Regions from separate parts of the Homo sapiens genome. Here region 1 is linked to region 2. Evidence: promoter capture Hi-C in human tissues and cell types (Jung and others, 2019). All regions are on one chromosome and are shown on one strand. Each heading gives the region's core, a stretch centred on a gene start or on the middle of the fragment in contact. The rest is flanking DNA. Distances are from core to core; before and after follow the strand shown. Region 1 overlaps HDAC9 (histone deacetylase 9). Region 2 holds the start of TSPAN13 (tetraspanin 13).

The links. Contacts are between HindIII fragments. The study calls those that stand out against the background at their distance.
Region 1: a contact is called between a fragment that was not itself captured here and the fragment with the promoter of TSPAN13 in region 2, in 1 of the 25 tissues and cell types used here (dorsolateral prefrontal cortex).

Annotation. Positions count from the first base shown.
Region 1 is chr7:18,519,691-18,525,671 of GRCh38, forward strand. The region is part of intron 2 of HDAC9 (histone deacetylase 9); the gene reads left to right. Among named protein-coding and RNA genes, the nearest start is that of HDAC9, 27 kb to the left of the region's middle. RefSeq lists a silencer at 2,477-2,556. The HindIII fragment of the contact is 5,725 bases long and covers 129-5,853 here.
Region 2 is chr7:16,752,485-16,758,380 of GRCh38, forward strand. It overlaps TSPAN13 (tetraspanin 13), which reads left to right and starts at 1,271. Exons shown (of 6, transcript NM_014399.4): 1 at 1,271-1,546. The coding sequence starts at 1,484. RefSeq lists a silencer at 3,860-4,154. The HindIII fragment of the contact is 15,712 bases long and covers 1-3,513 here.

The DNA.
Region 1 (5,981 bases), core at 1,741-4,240, 1.8 Mb after region 2:
CAGTACTATAAAAATTAAAAATCTACACACCCAACAATCTAGTAATTCCACTTAATTGGTATACAGAAATACTTGCACAAATTCACAATAATTTATGTACCAGGATATTTATCAGCAGTTTTATTTATAATAATGGAAAACTGAGGGCAATCTAACTATAAGTCAATACATAATCCATACTCTGAAATACAAGTCATTAAAGTTATTAAGTAATGTCTGAAGATATTAACATAGAAGGATGAGCTCAATATATTAATGAATGCAAAAAAATGTAGAATGGTATACAGTACATATAGCATAGTAAGCTCAACTAATGGATTCATGGTACTTGTTTCCATTATTTTATTGTTGTAGTAGGAGCAGAAAAGTAGTAAAAGTATTTTAACCCAAAGAAAAAAAATGCTAGCATGAAAATCACAGTTCAATAAAGTGTTTTTATATCAGTATGTTTATTAATAATTAAAAGTATTAATAAGTTTACTTCAGGAATAAGATTAATTTACGTATCTGTGAGAAACTTCGTGATATACATCAAAATATTAAAGTAATCATGCTATATTTTTCTTTTCATTCTGAAGACCACCTCTTGCAGGTAACTTTTTCTATTTTATTATACTGTCCTATTCTCCTTTCTTTACTTAGTTATATATCACAACTATAGAAGAAATAGGTTACCTGTTACTTGCAGAAATGTCACTCACTATTAATATTACTTTGCAACACAGAAAATTTTTCTGAATAATTAGAGGCAACTAAGCAAGCCTAAATGGAGTTGGTTAATTAAGTTATAAAATTCTAAGGGAGTATGATGAACCATGTAGACATATGAGCTTTCTGTTCTGCTTTTTTATCAAATGTTTCTGGCACCTGGGTTTTCTCAACTGCCCTTCTGTTGAATATGATTTTCGAATTGATGTAATGAAGAGTGGTGCTCTCTGGACAAGTAAGCTGTTCATTTGTAGAATAATAATATGTCAACACATATTTTCCAAAATAACAGTCCTACTACCGTAAATGTCTTGGAAACAGTTACCTGACACCCAGAGAGTAAGTACAACTAGCCTAGAGCCTTGGTCTGACACCAAGCAAGAGGGTTTATGAAAGAAGATAGCCCAGAAAGCTGGAGCCCTGCTCTGCTGTGTCGACATGTCTACAGCTCAGAATAAAATTGAGTTTCCTGCTTTAGCCATAGCTGGGTCTTAAAATAACCTGAAGAAATTATAGTTCTGATTACATAGAAAGTGAAGGACTTAGAACATTCTCCTAATAAAGCCATGAGAATGACACAAAGCTTAGTCATCGGCAGTCCTCCTCTAACAGGCGTTTTAGAGAGAAAAATAGAGGTTTGAAATTGGATAATTTGATTTGAAATCTTGCCTAATTATTTTAAGAATGCAGAAAACCTTTCTTTTTTGGCCAAAAAAATAATGATCTGGAATCCAATTAGGAAAGAACAGGCTTTTAAAATGTTTGATATCTCCAGTAATGGAGAAAAATCATGTCTTTAAAATTACATTCTGCTACAAACCTCATTCTTGGATGTCTTGCTTTTTGCATTTTGAATGGACAAATTTAATGTAATTTCCTTTTGGAAACATGGCATTGGAAAAGTTAGATGAGATGTTTAATTTTATGTTGGATCCTATCTACCAGGGTACAGATTTTTAAGAAGAAAAACACTTCTTGTTTCGTTTTATTTCCCAAGGGAGATATCTCACTTAACCAGATGCCTTGCGATTTGTCACAATATAGATCATTTACACAGAATTTGTGTCCAGTCGTCCATCTATTTGATTTGCACACCATGAATAAAATAAGCAAAATGGATAAAGCTTCTAATACTCCCAATTAAAAAATTGCTATCTATTTTTTCACCATTAATATGCTATCCCAAATGGCATTTATCACCATACTGTCTCACCATATTTATTCGTATGCTGTTGTTTTCTCAAGATACGTTCAATTCAGATTATGTTTGACTTGCAGCCATATCAATAATATGACTAATAATAAACAACAGTCTAGGATTTCCAGTTTTTAGAAAAACGATAATAAATTTGAAGTGAACCTATATTCAGATTTACATTTTACTTAGTATTGTTTTTAAAAAAACATTCAATTAATATTCTGAAATGATTCCATTTATTTTTACTACAAAGTTAGCTGGACCTTTACAGCATTTTAGAGTTTTACACGAGGTTTAGATTTGACTAAGCCTTAGTACGATGTCTGGAAACAGGAGGTTGAATGAACATTTGTTGAAAGGAAAAATCAGTTATTGAAATATTGTGTCTTCTGTTATCATTCTTGAGAAATGGTGGTGAGACAACTTAGTAGAAGTGACTAACAACTACATATATACAGAAGACAGGATGTAAGTCTCCAAGGTAATCAAGACCAACAGGAGGATGTTAGACCAAAATTAACACCGCGAGAAATGTGTTATGCATATATTACAGCCCACGTGTGAAAATCTGTTCATTTATAGAGAGATTGCTTCTCTGTGAATGGCTAAGTTGGCTCCACTAAGTACAAAAAAGCACTTAGGGCCATTCAGAACTAACAGCCACACACTCTGAAAGACTAAACCAAAAGATACCTGATTAGTAAGTGCTCTTTAGATGTGGGGATAGACGTTTTAACAAAGAAAGGACAGGGATGGAGAGGACTAAAGCTCCGTGCTGGGAAACTCTTAAGGAGCCAGGGCCTCCCAACAATATGCTAAGAGTGCACCCCTAGCTGTCTGGCCACATTTTCATTTCTTGTCTCAATCCTGAGGATTAATCATGAATTCCAGTCCAGTTTCTTTCCAAGCATATAACTGGACATGACAGAGTATCTTAGCTTCTACATCATAAAGCTCAATTGTTAATACTGAAAAAAAAAAAGCAGGGTGGTTTTTTTAAAAAAAACAAAAAACAAAAAACAAAAAAAAAAACATCTAATGAGCAAACAAACCAAACATGCCTCTCTTATTTCTTGTCCTGTCTATTTTTTATTTAAGCGCTGTAGGTGAGGTAATTGAAATGGAGCCCATGATATGTCTTAAGAAGGATTAATAACATTCAGTGACCATTAAGTGCTATGAATTTTCAATGTATAATGTTTTATTTGTTTCTCCCAGGAATCCTCTTTGTAGGTGGTAAAAATCATTTAACAAGTGAGGAAACTGAGCTCAAAGAGGCTGAATAACTTTAATTAACAAGCATTTATGGATGTCCACTGTATTTAGGCCAAAGTAAATGATGTAGTGTCTTGCTTCCAAGAGCACATTGTCTAGAGTGGAGGAAAAAGGCAAAGTAAACATGAGAGAATAGGTGCTAAAACTAGACTTTGCAATATTGAGAAGGCCTGGGAAGCCTTTCAAAGGAAATAAATGAAGGGGAGTTCAGTGTTTTTGAAGATGGTTGGAGGACATGATCTATAATGTTGCCATGGCTGGAGATGACACTGCAAACCAGGCAGGAGACAGATGATTAAGGACCTTTAATTCCATGCAAAGCTAGTGACTTTGAACTTCTAAAGGATTTTAAGAAGAGCTGCATGATCAGAAATACTTCTTGGAAAAGTAACTTTAGCTGCTGTATAAAGGATGGGACACTCCTTAAAATGGGTTGTGTAATTATCACATAACCTCTAACTATTAACTAGAAGTGCCCAGCAAGGAATAGGGAGAGAATAGTAAGAGTGAACTGGAAGGACCAGAAAGAGATAAATTGGGAATTCATGCAAGAGGTAAAGGGACAAATTCAGAGTCTGAGATTTCCACATTCATAACTGGGTAGATGTGTTGCCATTATTCATTCATTAATTATTTTTTGAGTGTCTCTTATGTGCCAGACATTATCTTCGTGCCAAAATAGATGACAGAGCAAAACAACCTTATATATTTGCCCTTGTGGAATGTGAAATCTACACTGTTTGCACATGTATATGTGTGTGTGTGTTGGGAGACTGATAATAAATTATAAATGTACATAATTATGTAATTGGTTAGAAATGGTGCTGTTAGATGAACAAAAGGTAGGGCAGAGAAAGGTGGTTCATGAGTTGGGAGAGAAAGGTGCACCATCACATAGAGTAGTTAGAGTAGGTAATTTTTATGAAGGTAAGATTTTCAGCAAAGGATTGGAGAAGGATTGTTAAGGTGAGGAATTACACAAGAGACAGATGAGGAGATTTAAATGTAGACCCCGCCCTCCCCCACCTCCCCCTCCCCGCTCCGCCCTGCTTCCCATTGCTTGTCTTGCTATTCACCTGGACTGGCAGAATAAGCGTGGAGCTTGGTAGGTAACATTGATTGACTATCACAAAATGAAGTGTAGAGCAACACTGAGAGTAGGAAAACCTTACACTATGAAAACATAGAGGGGAAAGAAGCACTTCTTCATCTGGCTGGGTTAGCTATTCTCAGGATAGGTACTCAAGTATGGAAGGTATATAGAGATTGGGCCTTGGCATACATTCATATCTACACAGATAGCATCTATTTACCTGTGTAGTGAATGTGAGCATGATAATTCATGTAATTAACTGCCATATTTCTTGTAGGGACTGAAAGTTAACAACTTTGTATATTAATACTCTAAGAGAACTCTAACTATAGTCTCCAACAAGAATTGCAGGGATTTTAAACTCATAATTACTCCTCAGCTGTAAATTTCAGATGTGGGTTATTGCTTTTTCTCATTTAGGGGAGTGAAATTGCTTCAGCCATCGACTTTGTGATGAGGCCTGCAGTCAGCTGTAGTTGAGAGGGGTGCTCACTCTCTGCTATTATTAGTAGTTTGTCCACGTAAAGACAATCATACAACATGTACAAAAGTTGGATTCAGGATAGCAACATATTATGTTTTGTGGCTGCAAGATATTTAAATCTAACACCAATAGCATAACGTTTAAAAACAAAAATTTTATTGAAAATAAAGTTTATGTTTGGGGCAAAGGAAGATTAAGAGGATAGGAATATATATTTTCCCATTCTTAACTCTGTCTCTCTTCTAGGGATTGAGAGATACAGAGAGATTGAGAGAGTGAATTGGAGTGAGTGGATATGAGTTATATAGCACTGCCTAATGGATTATTACCTCCCAAACCCCTGAGTTGAAGAGTAGATGGAGAGCCTGTGTAAAAGATTTTGGGTAGACGATTTTGAAATAAAACTTAGTGACATACACACACACACACACACACACACACACACACACACACATTACAGATAAGTATATATATGGAAAAATATGTATACGCAAGGAAAATACTGCTGTTCTAAATGTAGTATAATGATTTTAATATACTACCCAAGAAATCTTATGAGACTTTAAAATCATTTTAAGATTTAATAATAGTAATGGATTTAATTTTTTTAGTATGCTATTCATTACAAACTAGAAAAATCCTAATAAATCAGTCTGAATCAGTAAAGCCTCATAGATTTCCATGCAATAATGTGTTTCCTCAGTTGCTTTTACAGGAAAATAATTACTAATTATTTGATAAATTTAATTTTGGAGCAAATGTGTTGACAGCTGAAAAAACATGTAATGACTTGGATAGAGACCAGATATAACACTAGAACAAATAATATTGGCGACTTAAAAAAATAGTAACTGATGAAAAAAATCTAATTGCGTTAAATATTTTAAAGTACCTAAAAATACCAAGGATTTTGTATCTTTTGTCCTTTTCTACTTGAAATTTCTTAATCATTTTGGTGATCATACAAGATAAATCTTTAAAATTACTGTGTGAGTATTCTTAAAATAAATATAATTCTTTGGTTAAACTATACTTCTCTAAATTACATGCAGTCTTAATAAAATAATTCCTATGGATGTTAATGTTCATTCTAAACAATTTTGCTCAATCCATATTTTTGTAAACTGCATTGCTTTGCTTTTTTTAAAAGCTACTGTTTATATAGTCCTAGTTCCCAGTTTTTCATATATACTGTATTGTGTCTTTAAAATTAGAAATGCTGC
Region 2 (5,896 bases), core at 21-2,520:
TATAAAACCTTTTTCTTTGGTAGAAACTACTATGAAGTAAATAAACCTTTATTGCCTTCGCTTAGTGCCTGGAACACAGTAGGCCTTTACAAAATGTCAGATCTATGAATACTAGCTGACATTTATTGAGGCCTTCCCCTGTGCCAGCCACTATGCAAAAAGTGCTTGACATACTTCTAAAATCTCAATTTATAGGTGAGGAATTAAGGATACAAGATGCATTTCTATAGTAGAGAAGCAGTAAACTGATAATGAATTAATTGAGGTGAAGTCTGAGTTATTTGAAGATTTTCAGTTATTTTTGTGAAAAAATAAGTTTATTGAAATTCACGACCAGAACACAAAAATAATCTCTCTTGATTTTCTTTTTAAAATTTTTTAAAAAACTTTTGTTGACACGTAGCAGATGTATATATTTACGGGGTACATGAGATGTTTTGATACAGGCATGCAATGTGAAATAAGCACATCACGGAGAATAGGGTATCCATCCTCTGAAACATTTATCCTTTGAGTTACAAACAATCCAATTACATTCTTTAAGTTATTTTAAAATACACAATTAAGTTCTTATTAACGATTGTCACTTTATTGTGCTATCAAATAGTAGGTCTTATTCATTCTTTCTATTTTTTTGGACCTATTAACCATCCCCACCTTCTCCCGCTCTTGATTTTCCTTTGCATGCATGTATTCATAAAGTTTATTAGTATTTTGCAAATCTTTGTAGGATAAGTCTGACCTGTCCAGGTCACAATTATAGGGCACATATCTTATTTTCTGAGAGAAGCAGGGATTTTATTTTATTTTTTATTGTTTCACTTATTTTCTCCCTTTCATTTGCCTCTACTTCGTTCTCTTTTAAATCTTTCACATGTTTTCATTCATTACTTGCTTCCTGCCTTCCTTCCCTCAAACAAGGCCAGGTGCTTAGTTTTGAAATCTCATTCAAAATGGTGCCACGTCATCTGCCAGGGCCAAGAATCCAGAGGTGCTGTCATATTTCTCCTTGCCAGCGTGGATCTCCTCCGAGCCCCGCCCTCCCTCCTCACCTGCTCCTGGGGAAACTACACCAAGGCCGCCGCTCTGGCCTGGGGCTCCCTCCCACACGGCCTTGGCCCTCTCCCCCTCGCCCCGGGACCGCTCCGCCCCTCCCGGATCCCGGTCGGCGGAGCGCATTTATTTGCATATTTCTACCTTTGTTCCCTGCCAGCGGCCAATCAGCGCGCGGGGCGAGACGAAGGGGCTGGGCGGGGCTCGGGCTCCTGCTCCGGCTCAGCTGCGGCGGCCGCAGGTTCCAAAGCGGGTCCGAGCCGCCGCCGCGCGCGCGCCGCGCACTGCAGCCCCAGGCCCCGGCCCCCCACCCACGTCTGCGTTGCTGCCCCGCCTGGGCCAGGCCCCAAAGGCAAGGACAAAGCAGCTGTCAGGGAACCTCCGCCGGAGTCGAATTTACGTGCAGCTGCCGGCAACCACAGGTTCCAAGATGGTTTGCGGGGGCTTCGCGTGTTCCAAGAACTGCCTGTGCGCCCTCAACCTGCTTTACACCGTGAGTATCCCCAGTCCGTTCCTGCTCGCTTGGGGGCTTTGCACCTGCTTGGGAGCTCTTTGGCTTCCCTGCCTGGTCAGCGACTCACTCGTTGCATCCCGCGCCCCCTTCCCGGCTTCCCACGTCTGCGCGCCCCCGGCCTCACCATCCGTCCCCGCCGGGGACCGGGCGCCGGCGCTTGTCGCAGTCTCTTCCTTTCGTTCATTGTGAAGCCGCGGTCTCTCAGGCTCGCTGGCCGCGTCTCTGCCACATTGCTCCACCCCGCCCCCTCACCCACCGCCTTGTTTTTCAAACATTCAACCGGACCTCTCCGCTTTCCCACCCCGTACCCTTCTGCCGCTCGCTCCTGACATCCAGACGCATCTGGGCCAGGCGTGGAGGCGCGAGAGCCGTCAGGGCTTGCGGACAGTTTTGCGGAATGGCGTGGCCTGAAACTGACGAGGCGGCATATGGCTGGTGTGCCTCTGGGTTAGCTCTTGGTACCCTCGGGATTTTAATTGAGGCCACTGAGTAGGTTCACAGGATGTCCGCTGCTTCCGAAGTTTGTTTCGTGCTCACAGTAAAGGGATGTCTTTTTGTTTTTGTTGTTGTCAGTTTTGCTAGTACTTGGTGCTTTTTCTGTGTGTCTTGTCCATGATCAATATCCTAACTCCATTTTAAACCAAGTCCTCCAGGAAATAAGCGAGCCCCCACCCAAGTCGTTTCTTTCCCTGCCAACCAGCTTGGGCCTCTTAGTTTTAACGCTGCAGGCTCTCTTTGTGATTTTTTGAGGCGCAATTCTGGGTGAACAGGAGGATGGGCAGGACAGATCGACATTTATTGAATGCCTATCACGTCCCAGGTTTTACATACACAATGCTCGTTCATCATTCTGACAACCTTCTGAGGGAATGGGGCATTATCTGCATTTTATACATAAGGTAACAGACCAAAAAGGTTTTAGTAAGTTTACATAGCTGGTAGTTGACGAGTCAGGAGTGGAACCTAGGCTGTGGAATCCAGATCTTTCCACAGGCTGTCTCTACCGGGCGGAAGAAACTTCCTCTTCTGTCATCATCCCTCCATAGTAGTCTTGCTCCCTTCTATAAATATACCTGGCGCTTTGCAGCACCCACCCTGAAAACAAACCCAGCACCCCTGCATTAGCAGAGAGCTAGGCCATCTGTGCAAGCTTAGATTACCTCCTTGGAATAGAGAGGCTGCCTTGTGGTCACCAACAGGAGAAGGAGGTTGGGTCATTTTACCTTTACTGTTCCTTTGTATGTGAACATGACTGCAAGCTTTGAAGGCAAGACAGAAACAGGCATTGAGTACGCTTTTATGGCTAGTTAGTAAGAATCTGGTCAACATGGTCATTAATAGTAGACTTGGGAAAAAAATTTTAGAACACCTGGTGATACAGTTCCTTGGAGATACATGTCAAGTTTCAGATCAAAATTCATCTGTATCACCCTGAGGTATGCTTATCACCCTGGCTGTTTATTAAGTAAATGCTGACCAGTTCTCTAGGGTTTTTTTTTTTTTTTTTAAATCAGTGTGAGTGGCCTGCTTGGAACTTTAAATTCCTTATTTTGTGACCTGAGTTCTGTTTTTTTTCTGCCAATGATTTAGTCATCTGTTTGCCAGACACTTAGTCTTACAGTGCCTGCTTACACAGAGTGGAATGTCTACTTTGCATACTTACTTCACTGAAGGGTCTATATCAATGTATAATCTTTTTTAAAAAGGCAAGTTATTTTAAAATGAAGTTCCTTGCTTTCTAGACATCATTTTTAGTTGTATTTAGAGTATATCAGGAAAGTGAGGCGAAAGAAAGGTGATTCTAAAGGGACATATTAAGACTATTTAATATCTATTCTAAATTATTGACCTTCAAAGTGTGTGTTCTATTGATTTTAATAGCTATGCAGTAAAACTTAATGAATTGGAAATTCACGGGACAATAAAAATGGCTAGCCCTTTTAAATCATAGACTTTTTAGACAAAGGGACATTTCTTAAAATGAATTAGTGGCTGCTTGCTTCTTTTACATTGTAAATAGGCTTAAATAACTGCAGCAGTTTAAAGTGGAGGCAAGTGACAGGTAAAAGTTGGATCAAGTCTTAGATAGATGCTGAAAATGTGCCATGGCCATTATTTAGCTTCTATTTCTCCCCTGATCTCTTTCTCAACATTTTAAGATGAAAAAAATGTGAGGCAGTTGGGGATGGGATTGAGCATGAAGACTTGGGAGACATTTCTCTATAAGTCATGAATAGAAACATTCTTTGTAGGTTCTAATCCCACCCTGGTCACTGCCTCTAAAATGTGCTCAACGCTACAGGATTACATTTGAGGTCATTTCTAAAAGTGTTGGTTAAACCAGGATTGCATATGGGAACGGCAGATGCCTGAAACATCATCATTGCTGTGTTGAAGCATTTTACTGAGGAACTTAGGACTGTATCAGCTGAACTGTCCACATGCTCTGGTGGCTTGCTGATGAGCCTGAGATTCGTGCCACATTCATGATCAGCTCAGAAAGCATGTCACTAAAAACAAGTTGGAAGTCCCAAACAAGGAAATTTGATCACTAGGCAAAATGTTAACAGTTGATTTTTCTTGTTGTTTATGGCTTGATTATTTTAGTTAATAGGATCGCCAGTACTGGACAAGCTTAAATTAGTGTAGTATGTGTTAACAGTTTGTAAATATAGAAGAAAAGGGGGAAGCTACATTCCTGAATTCACCTTCACAGTATTCTAAGAGAATGACTTGCCTCAGAGCTTCCTGCATTTAAAGAAACTTTCAGTTTCTTCATTCAACAATTATTGAGTGCCTACTGTGTGCCAGGCTCTGTTCTCAGTTTGGAAATACAGCAGCAAACCAAACAGGGCGTAAAAATCAATGTGCTTTTATGAAGGCTCTTTTTTATTTACTACCTTTTATACATATGTTTTCAGGAATTGTATTCAGTCAATAAACTTTTGTCTACTGTGTGCACTCTTTTGAGAACTGTGGGAAATAATAAATACCTATAAAGGCAAATGCATTGTGAAGACAGGATCTAGATGAGAGACATGGAATGGGAAAATTAAATGGCGTATAAGGAATATACTGACTTTAGGTACCATAAAATTTAGGACTGTGGCAGATATTTGTGGGTTAGAGAAGTTGGGGGAATAAAGGAGGTGTGATTGAATCAAGGAAATGTAGAAATAGTGTGTGGGTCTTTTTGATACCATTTAGGATATACATAAAAATGAAAATGATTTGGGAAAATGACTTATTTTTAATAGTTTATAGGAATATTTTAGGCTGAAAAGATTTTGACAAGTAGTGAAAAAAACTTTTGAAAATTATGCTTAGTGATTTGTGGGAAATTTTAGAAAATATGAAATAAAATTTGTATTAAAATACGTAATATTTTGAAGCTTTATAATGTGTCTCCTTGTGCTTCTTAACCAGAGAAGAAAGCTCTATTAAAAACAAACAACCAAAAAAAAGGTAGCTGACTTTGTTAAATAGAACCAAACTGAAAAATATGACCAAACATATATTTACTGGGACTTTTTAAGAGTTGCCCTGCCAGTTTTAAAATCAGGAGGGAAATTTCAGAAGTTGCAGTTTTGTTTCTCCTGTGTGTGTTCATTCTTATAACATCTTTCCATGTTTGTTTCTTTCTCTTTTTCGTGATTCTTTTTCCTTATACTTTTGGTTGTTTTGAGAAAAATTCTCATGCAGCATAAAAATTATACTGAATTACTTCATAAACACCTTAATTTATATTTTTATCACCTCTGAAGTTGGGATGCATTTTATTGTTTCTATTTGTATTTTTGAGATGGAGTTTCACTCTCGTTGCCCAGGCTGGAGTGCAATGGCGCGATCTTGGCTCACTGCAACCTCCGCCTCCTGGGTTCAAGCGATTCTCCTGCCTCAGCCTCCTGAGTAGTTGGGATTACAGGTGCCCGCCACCATGTCCAGCTTATTTTTTGTATTTTTAGTAGAGACGGGGTTTCGCCGTGTTGGCCAGGCTGGTCTTGAACTCCTGACCTCAGGCGATCCACCCGCCTCGGTCTCCCAAAGTGCTGGGATTACAAGCATGAGCACTTTATCTACTATAAAATGCTCCCGGCCTGGGATGCATTTTATAGTAGATAAAGTGTGCCATATCTGTTAGATAAAAAAATACGACCATACAATTTATGGGAAGAAAATTCTGTTTTTAATCTGTTAGATAAAAAACATATGTCCATACAAATTATGGGAAGAAAGATCACTGGATTTATGAAGAAAACTGAAACTTTTCCAACTCTGTTACTAGACAAACAGCTTACTTTGAGTTTCAGTTTCTTCATATATAAATTG